2 separate regions of the Homo sapiens genome follow, and region 2 is linked to region 1. Evidence: promoter capture Hi-C in human tissues and cell types (Jung and others, 2019). All regions are on one chromosome and are shown on one strand. The core of a region is centred on a gene start or on the middle of the fragment in contact, and the rest is flanking DNA. Distances in the headings are between cores, read along the strand shown.

Region 1 (4,848 bases), core at 620-3,119:
GTTGGTTTGTCTTGTCTATTCTCCGACCCAGACTTCTCTTGGCCCCTCAATCCCTGGCCTGGCCAGTGGCCCCTGCTTGCCTCTTCGTGGTTCTTCTTCATGAAGAGCAGCTCCTCCTTGAGAGCCTCGATCTCTGTCTCCAGCTGCAGTCGTGTGATATTGGTGTCATCAATGACCTTGCGGAGCCCATGGATGTCGTTCTCCACAGACTGGCGCATGGCCAGCTCTGTCTCATACCTATAGGAGTGGAGGTGATCAGAGGGGCCCCTATCTCTGATCCAGAACCTTCTCAACTCATGCCACCTACTAAGAGAAGTTCTGTGCCCATTGCAAACCAGCAACTTGAGTCAGCAATTAGGTGGTAATCCCCTGAGCACCATTCTTGGCACTTGGAGGACAGTATTCTTAAACGGGGTTATACAAATGAACAGTTAAATGAATACACTGATGGACCCTGACTCTCATCCACCCACACCTAACAGGATCCCACTGTGAGCCCCTAACTGACCCAGCCTGGGGAGCAGATCCTTCTTAGCTCCACCCCTGGACCCCCAGCTCTCTAGCCCCCAAACTTACTTGACTCTAAAGTCATCAGCAGCAAGACGGGCATTGTCAATCTGCAGAACGATGCGGGCATTGTCCACAGTATTTGCGAAGATCTGGAGGGATTGTAGAGAGAGGTTGTTCCATGAATAGAAAGCCAGGGATGGGTGGGGTGAGTGTGTAAAAAGTGTTATGTATCCTAGTGAAAACTTCCTGGTCCCAGGAATAGCCAGAGGCTCTCCCTGGACACCTATCCCTTTTCATCTAGCCCCACCCCATTCCCTCCTTTCCTGGATTCCCAGATCCCAGCACTCTGCCCCTCTTGGGAAGCCTCAGCAGGCTGGCTAGCTGGCTGGCCTGCCTGCCCAGAAGTGAGTCGCTACTAACAAGTCCTCTTCCTGGCCCTCTCCTGGCATTTTTTCCCTAGTGCACCTGGTCACTCTGGGCCCCCTACACCCTGGATTGGCTCCTCCCAAAGGAAGGCCTCTTGTTTACTCCTAGATGACTCAGCCTTAGCCACATCCGCTTAACCCTCCAATAGTCCCCATTCCGCCAGAGCCAGTGTCTCCTCCTCTTTACAGGCCTTTCCTTACCTCCCTCCATGCTGTCCACTTCCTCTGTAAAGCTCTCAACCCTGTCCCCTTCCCCCTCTCTCCTGGGAAAGAGCCCTCCCATGCCTAGCTGCTGCTCTTAGGGACCCTGTGGCTAGGTGCGCGGATGGAAATCCAGGTATGCCCAACCCCCTCCCGGTGGAGTAGGGGTTGGGTGGTTATGGAATGACGGAAAGAGGCAAAGGAGTGTATAATTGGAGGGTCAGACAAGGCTGGGAGTTGAGGTCCCTCCTACCCCTTACCTGAGCCCTCAGGTCCTCGATGATCTTGAAGTAATGGCTCCAGTCTCTGACCTGGGGTCCCTTCTTCTCCAAGTGCTCCCGGATTTTGCTCTCCAGCCTCCGGTTCTCGGTCTCCAGGCTCCTCACTCTGTCCAGGTAAGAGGCCAGGCGGTCGTTCAGGCTTTGCATGGTCTCCTTCTCGTTCTGGATGCCTCCCATTCCTGCCAGACCCCCGGCTATCCCGGTGGCCAGGCCCCCGGACCCCATGCCGCCCCTGAAGCTGGTGGAGCGGGACACGGAGATCCGGGAACCAGAGCCCCCAGCGCCTGCATAGACGCTGGCCGCGCTGCTGACCGGCCGGGCGCCGTAGCTGGGCGCCTGGACAGAGCCCAGGGACCGGTAGTTGGTGGAGAAGGTGGAGCGAGTGGTGAAGCTCATGCTGTCCGGGGAGAGAGAAAGGACAGGACTCAGGCTTTGCGGACGACGGTGGCGGCCTGCGCGAGCCGCGCGACCCGAGTTATATCGCAGAGTGAGGCCCCGCCCCCGCCCCGGAGCCGCTTCGGAAGCCGGAGCCACAGGTGGACGGCTCGGAGCCCGCGCCCTCCGCCCCGGGCCGCTCCGCCCCGGGCCCCACCCCCGCGCCCTCCGCGCAGCCCTGCCAAGCCCCGCTCACCCCCCAGAAACGGGGTGGCCAACCGGGCATGGACACGGACAGCAGGTGTTGTTGGCCCTCGAGGCTGCTTTCAGGGCAGGAAATGACGTTATTATGCTCTTCTCCCCCAGGTGGAGGAGGTGCTGGCGAGTTTGAAATTTGGGAGTCTTGACCGGGCGCAGTGGCTCACGCCTGTAATCTCAGCACTTTGGGAGGCCTAGGTGGGCGGATCACGAGGTCAGGAGATCGAGACCATCCTAGCCAACATGGTGAAACCCCCTCTCTACTAAAATACAAAAAATTAGCCGGACGTGATGGTGCACGCCTGTAGTCTCAGCTACTTGGGAGGCTGAGGAAGGGGAATCGCTTGAACCTGGGAGGCGGAGGTTGCAGTGAGCCGAGATCGCGCCACTGCAGCCTGGCGACAGAGTGAGACTCTGTCTCAAAAAAAAAAAAAAAAAAAAAGAAAAAAGAAATTTGGGGGTCTGGTGGTGTGCGGGTGGAATGGCCTGTGAGTCCCTCTAGCTGTCCTTAACCTGCAGCCCAAATTATCCACTTGTGGAGGGGATCTTGGGGGCATCCTGGAGCCCCAGGAGTCCCGGGGAAGAAAGGCTGGGAGCTGGAGAAGAGGAGGAGAAGCAATGCCCAGCCTCATAGCTGCTTGCTTACACACTCACACCCCAGCTGCACCTGGCTCCCAAACACTCCTCGCCTGCCCACGTTTCCTCACACACACTCACACCCGAATCATACAGAGGTGTGCTCTCAAATGCACACACACATACATTCACTCAGCAAATAGGTGCAGACTCCCCAAAACAAACCCAGTCTCTGAGCCCCCTCCACCACCCTCCCCTCTCCCGACCTCACTCCCAAGGGCCTTGCCTCAGTGGAACACTGTGATTTGGACAGGGAATGCATCCTGACTTCTGCACACCGGTATATCACCTTTCCTGCATCCTTAATTAAACAAATCCTGAGCATTTACAATTCAACCAGTATGCATTCAGCACCTACTGTGAGCCAGGCCCAGTTCTAGGAGCTGGGAGAGAAGGGCGGTGACAAAAGAGACCAAAAATCTCTCACAGAGATGATAATGTGTCCCACATCGCCGGGCACAGTGGCTCATGCCTGTAATCCAAGCACTTTGGGAGGCCGAGGCGGGTGGATCACTTGAGGTCAAGAGTTCGATGCCACTGCACTCCAGCCTAGACAACAGAGCAAGACTCTGTCTCAAAAAAAAAAAAAAAAAAAAAAAATTTGAGACCAGCCTGACCAACATGGTGACACCCCTTCTCTACTAAAAATACAAAAATTAACCAGGCACAGTGTGTGCCTGTAATCCCAGCTACTCAGGAGGCTGAGGCAGGAGAATCGCTTGAACCCAGGAGGCAGAGGTTGCAGTGAGCCAAGATCGTGCCGTCGCGCTCCAGCCTGGGCAACCAGAGCGAAACTCTGACTCAAAATAAATAAATAAATAAATAAATAAAAGTAATGTGTCCTACATCGCATGGGGCCTGAGAGGACAGGCAGGCACTCCTAGGACCATCATAGCAGCGACCCAGCCCTGGTGGCCAGTGCCCCTCCCCTCTTTTCTAGGACTTTTCTCCAAGCCAGTCCTTCCCCTGTCCCCCCTTGTAAGGGCTGTCTGGATTAGAAGCCTGGCCCCAGGGGACTGCATCCTCCAAGATGCTCTCCCCAGCCTCTGTGTGAGAAGGATGGAGGTAGGGAGGCTTTCATGCTGCCTGCCCCCTGAAGCTGAATGACCATCCCTGCTGAATGAAGTGTTGGGGGGAACCCTTAGGTGTTTGGCCTTCAAGTTTGTCAGCTCCAGCAGCTCGTTTTTCTGGCAGGGCCTGGTATGACACATTTGGCTGTGTTCTTTGCTCTGGAGTGGACCTATTGATTCTTATCGAGCTACCAGCTGAGGGGGAAGGGGAGGACAAATAGTAGGGCAGACCTGGGAGAGAAGGGACCCTGGAAAAGCCTGGCCAGTGGACCTGCCAGGTGGGAGGCAGAGCACAGATAAAGAGCCTGAGCCTGGATTGTTCCTGATCTGTCACCTAATGGTGGGGAGAGCCCCACAGTGCTCAATGGGAGCCAGCCAGGGGGCAGTCAGGGTGGAAGCTGGCCAGGGGAGGGTCGGGGCCTGCTGAAGGCTGGGAGGCAAACGGGATGCAAAATAACATACAAATGAATGCCCACTGGTTTTGCATACAAGGCTTCTGGGAGGTAAGAGGTTCCAGTCAGAGGGGTCTCTCCTGCTTTCACCTTTATATTCCCCCACTGGATTCCAGAACTGTCAAGTTGGGCAGTATTTTATAATAAAGTATGTGGAGTCAACAAGCTACGTACTGCCTTTTACTGTTATTGCTAAGCTTTAAGTCAGCCAGCCTGGATACTTTGCTAGCTGTGTAACCTTGGGGAAGTCACCTAACTCTGAACTTCAATTTCTTCACTTGTACAGGGAAAACAGTAAGACCTGTCCAGTCTATTTCCTCAGGTGGCAGTGAATGTGAGTGTAAATTGTCACTCACTCATTCATCAAACAAATACTAATTATTTGTACTGGAGCCTTCCTTCAAAGTAAGGAAGGCTTCAATATATACAGGAGGGCAGATAAAGGGGGTCAATTTAATTCGAAAGACGGGCTCAAGGGGTTTGAAGTCTGTCTCTCTGAGTCATTTAAAAACCCTGGGGCACTTTGAAATCTACCAGCAATCAAAACAGATTCTAGAATTTTTCTCCAAGCTAATTCCCAGGTCCTTGTCTGATTCCTGCCCCACCCCAACTGCTAGGAAACTTCTGGGACCTGTGGAGG
Region 2 (4,848 bases), core at 1,291-3,790, 730 kb after region 1:
AGGGGAAGAAAAAGTCCCAAAACTTCATTCTGGCTGTGGCTGAAAGCTCTGAGTCTTTCTTTATCTCACTAAAGGCAAAGGCTGCAGCCAGTTCAGGTGGCCAAACCTGTTCATCCTGACTGTCTTGGGGCAGGCTGCCAGGCGTGGGCAGACAAACACCTCCATGTGCAGGGGTTCAGGCCCGAGGCTGGCCTGGGAGGGCTGGATGCTGGCTGCAGGCCAAGGCTCCAGTGAGGAACCTCAGCACTAAGCACTCCAGGAGGAGGTCGGTGGCCTGTGGCCTCTAGGGCTTGGGATAGGAAGTGAAGCAAACCGGGACTTTTCCTATCCTCCACTGGGACCGAGACCTTACCATCAGGCCTTGAAGGCTCAGGGAAGGAGGAGCCTAGGGAAGGGAGGAGGGGAGAGGAAGAGAGCAGTGCCTTTGCTCTCTGGTATTGTCACATTATATATATAAACACATATATATACACATATATATACACGTGTGTGTGTGTGTGTGTGTGTATATATATATATGTGTGTGTGTGTGTATATATATATATAAAATCTAAGTCACCAGAACCTGTTGTCCTTGGCCCTCTATGCCATTTCCCCTTCACTGTTTCCCCAGCAGGGGTGGCAGGGGTCCAGCTGGTGCAGTTGCCAGTGGAACCAGGAGAGAACTGCCTTAGGAACCAGTGTTCAGTGGCCTGTCACTAAGGGTTTCTGAGGTTTGTTTTTCCCCACAGCAAAGCTGCTGCTTCACTTTTTGCATATTTTAACAGTTTCAATGTTTTCCCTGGGATAGTCCTACAAATTTCAAAAATGGAAAAGCAGTAAGCATTTGCTGATGCATGTCTTCTCCATGCAACTGTGAGCTGCTAAAGGCAAGCGCTGTGCAAACTCACTTTTCTATACACTCCCTCCCAGTGCCTAATAAGGGTCGGTCCACAGCAAGCGCTCAATGAATGCTTTGTTTCTCTGTCCAGGTGTGTGTGTCTGTGTGTGTGTGTGTTCCCGCACTGCCTTTTTCTGCATATCTGGGGGGCAAAGAGATAAGTCCCCACTTCCCTCCATGTTTCAGCCTGCAAAGGCTCTCTCTGAGGCACCTGATTCCTAAATAAGGTCGTTCATGTTTGTGACTGTCTAAAGTGGCGTGCTTTGTTCCTAAGAGATGGATAAGCCATCTTTATCTGCCATAAGAAACAAGTGAGACAATGGCTCCTAGAGATAAGGAGCTGGGCACTGGGCACATGCCTAGTGTGGCTGAAACACTGACTTTTGCACAGCGCAGAGAAGCTTGTCCCCACCCCACCCCAGTCATGAGCACTGTCCATTGTACTGAACGGTCACAGTTTGCAGCAACAGCGGACAATGGACCCCTGCTCAAGAGTCAGAGGTGTGGGAAAGAGGGTTAAAATAGGAATTTCCACTCCTCAGATGTTCTCCAAAGCCTGGTGGAAAGCACATCTGGGTCCTCACTGGTGACTGCTATGATCTAGATAAAGAATAGAGGCTCTCAAGAAATCAGAGATGGGCTCTGGGCTGGCAAGCTAGATCCAGGAGCTCTCATGGAGGTGATGGGGTCCCCAGGCTGGGCAAGCTCTAGGGCTGGAGGTTCTGCCCCCAGCAGTAGTGGCAAAAGCAGCTGTGAAGGCAATGCCTTCGGGAGCTTGCTGGCCCTTTTCAGGCTGTGCTATCTGAAAAGCATCTACGCATCGTACAGCCCATGTCAACAACATTTCGGCCCACAGAGCTGGAATGCTTCATTCAGCCCCAGGGCCTTATCTTCTGAGATCCAGTTACTAGCAACAAGCATCATGATAAGGTGGCAGCCAGGCGCCTGTCTGATCCTGCCTGGGTCCGGCATCTGACCCCAGTATGACCTCCCTCCTCTCCCACCTGGGCCTGACTCATGCTTCCAGAACAGGAACTCGAGGATCCCTGCTGCCCAGCCATAGCTGACTCATGGCTGGTCCAGGGGTTGCTCTGGAAGGGGCTCAGGACAGCTGTCAGCTCTCAGGAAGGAGACACCTGTCATTTCCTGAGCACCTACCATGTGCCAGGCACCAGGCACACCTCTGAATTTCATTGGTATAATTAACTTGAAGGGGATTTCTGATCTTTCGTAGAAAGGAGAAAAATGAGGATCAGGCAGAAGTGAATTCAAAGGCCAATCTCTTAGCACCGAGCACAGCCATCCACTCACCCTCAGTGCACTCCCTGGGGCCAGCCACCACCACCCCTGGGAACCACTGTTTCTTTTCTAAAATTTAAAAAAAAGAGAGAGAGAGATTGGGCCAGGCGCAGTGGCTCACACCTGTAATCCCAACACTTTGGGAGGCCAAGGCAGGCGGATCACTTGAGGTCAGGAGTTGGAGACCAGCCTGGCCAACATGGTGAAACCCCATTCCTACTAAAAAATACAAAAAATCAGCTGGGTGTGGTGGCACAATCCTATAATCCCAGCTACTTGGGAGGCTGAGGCATGAGAATCGCTTGAATCTGGGAGGCAGAGATTGCAGTGAGCCGAGATCGTGCCACTGCACTCCAGCCTGGGCGACAGACTGAGACTCTGTCTCAAAAAAAAAATACAGAGAGAGGGTCTCACTATGTTGCCAAGGCTGGTCTCCAACTCCTGGACTCAAGCAATCTTCCTGCCTCAACTTCCCAAAGCTCTAGGATTACAGGTGTGAGCCACCTCACCCAGCCTCACCGTTTCTTCATTCATTCCTCCATCCCACATTTATCAACGGCTTCCTCTCCTCTGCTTCATGGCCAGTCAGTCCCAGAGGGCAGACTTTGGGAAGCCCACCAGCTCTCCTGAAGGAGTCAGGCTTGCCTGGGAAAGGGGGCACTTGCACCCCAAGTCCACCAAGGCAGAGACAGGTATCCCTACTCCCTGCAACCCTCTCTCAGCCAGCGGGTGGGGCTAGCGTGGCCTCCATGGCTGCAGAGGGGTCTCTGGCCTGGACTGCAGCATGGTCTTGGCAGCACACTCCTGCACCCAGTAGGTGCTTCGGGAGGCATCCTTGCTGTCCCCTGGCATCAGCCCTGCAGTGGGTGAGCAGGTGAGGTGGCAGGAGCAAGGAGATCACCTCTCATTCCTGTGGTTTCAGGTGCCTGGCTGATGTCAGGCCTGAGTGATGTGGCAGTGGGGGCAGGGGGTCACTGTGTCTGGGGCCTGAATGGGGGCTGAGGCTTTTCCTTAAAAGTTCATAAATCACTAAATATGTCCCCTTTCAGCACAGCCACACCCTGGGCCTGTGAGGATGCATCTCCTCATGCAGACACAGACAGCTTTCCTCAGGCCCTGCTCACTGCTCACATGTGCCTTTATGGTGCCACAGGGATATGGTCTCATATCCCTCACACGTGCAGTGAATACACACATGTGCACATAACTCACACAGGCAGATAGTCCCTCTTGGGCACACAGGTGCATGCTACAAGCAGCCTTGTGTAAGTGCCCACAGCCCCCTCCCACCTCACACATGTCCACGTGGCTTCATGCTATTCCGGTGCCCACTGGTGTCCCCAGGCACAGAGAAGCACACACTTGGCAGGGCACTTAAGCTTCTCCAAGCACTCAGGGAAACACATGACTTTGTGCTATCGCACATGCTCCCAAATGTACACACTCACAAATATGCAAAGTCTGCAGGAGCCTGAATTCCATCACACACCTGCACAGTCATGTGCACTCAGCACTCACACATACACTGCGGTTCCCAGGGGTGGTGCTCACTCAAGGCAGAAGGTACACACTCAAATCATGCACACACACCAGATGCGCACGTGCATGCATGAACAACAGACTATGCCCAGGTGTCCACACAGCATTCGCACGTTCATGCCCACCAGTAGACTTGTAAGCGGGACCTTCAGGACATCAGGAACGAGAGTACAGCAGGGAGGGAACTGCAGCTGGCAGGATGCTGCAATCCCCAGCCTCACCTCTGGGAGCCGCTGTCGGGTCTGCAGCCAAGCCCTTGGCTTGGAAGGGCAGGAGCCTGCCTGAGGCACAATCCCACTGGCCTGAGCCAGCAGGTGGCACAGCTCAGGCTGGACCCAGCCAGCCTCAAGGAGGGAAGAGAGGGACATCATGGTGGCGCTGGACTCCCTGCAGGGTATGGGATGAACTCTGCTGCTCAGATGGGCAGGGGCTGCAAGAAGGAAGAATGGGCAGCTTGAACTCAGGGAGGCGGGTCTGTGGTGGGGCAAGTGGATGGAATAGAACTGGAGGGTGGAGGAGGAGATGGGAAATGGAAGGGCAGGGGGTTAAGGAAGAAATAAAGGAGGCAGAGGGAAGGACTGCGGGGAGGGAGACGAAAAGGTTGAGGATAGGAGGGGAGTGAGAGAGAAGAGAAGCAGAGAAGAAAAAGTGAGGAGAGAAGAGGGGCCAGACCGGGACAGAGCAGTGCAGGGCTGTGAGGAAGGAGGTAGAGGGATGGGCACGCCCTGCACCACCAGCCACCTAGCCTCCCTGTCCTGCCAGCTCCATACCCCGTCAGGAAAGACAGGCCAGGGCTCTGCTGCCCTGTGCCTCCTCCCTTCTCCAGACCCAGGATGTCGGCATCCCTGGATTTTGAGATCCAAAAGGCAGGGCTCAACTTACCCCACATGGAAGACAGTGACTCACACAGATGAGCCTGCTAGAGCACCTTTTCCAGGAGCAGAGACCCACAAGGGTGGACGGGGGCTTGCTTTCCCCTCTCCTGGGGCTGGCAGGAACACCCCACTCTTACCCCAACTCACAGTGATCGCCGGAGGGTGGTGCACTCTGCTCCAGCACCTGCCACCTGCCTAACACGCACTTGGGGACAGCTTCCAATAGGATGCAAGTGGCAGACAAAGGTACCCCAG

What was found. Contacts are between HindIII fragments. The study calls those that stand out against the background at their distance.
Region 2: a contact is called between a fragment that was not itself captured here and the fragment with the promoter of KRT18 in region 1, in 2 of the 25 tissues and cell types used here (IMR-90 fibroblasts and lymphoblastoid cells).

The regions. Positions count from the first base shown.
Region 1 is chr12:52,946,139-52,950,986 of GRCh38, reverse strand. KRT18 (keratin 18) reads right to left here and starts at 1,869. Exons shown (of 7, transcript NM_000224.3): 1 at 1,397-1,869; 2 at 577-659; 3 at 81-237. The coding sequence starts at 1,813. It also overlaps a transcript of KRT8 not described here. RefSeq lists silencers at 826-840, 944-962, 1,186-1,209, 1,871-1,920, 1,961-2,040 and 3 more, enhancers at 997-1,096, 698-1,352, 264-1,463, 1,287-1,880, 1,881-2,474 and 1 more, promoters at 1,840-1,901, 2,111-2,193, 2,271-2,281, 2,202-2,281 and a cis regulatory region at 2,111-2,193. The HindIII fragment of the contact is 11,259 bases long and covers 1-4,848 here.
Region 2 is chr12:52,212,780-52,217,627 of GRCh38, reverse strand. LINC00592 (long intergenic non-protein coding RNA 592) reads right to left here. Exons shown (of 5, transcript NR_027358.2): 3 at 4,601-4,848. LINC02874 (long intergenic non-protein coding RNA 2874) reads left to right here and starts at 4,045. Exons shown (of 3, transcript NR_164133.1): 1 at 4,045-4,112. RefSeq lists an enhancer at 3,620-4,181. The HindIII fragment of the contact is 5,317 bases long and covers 1-4,848 here.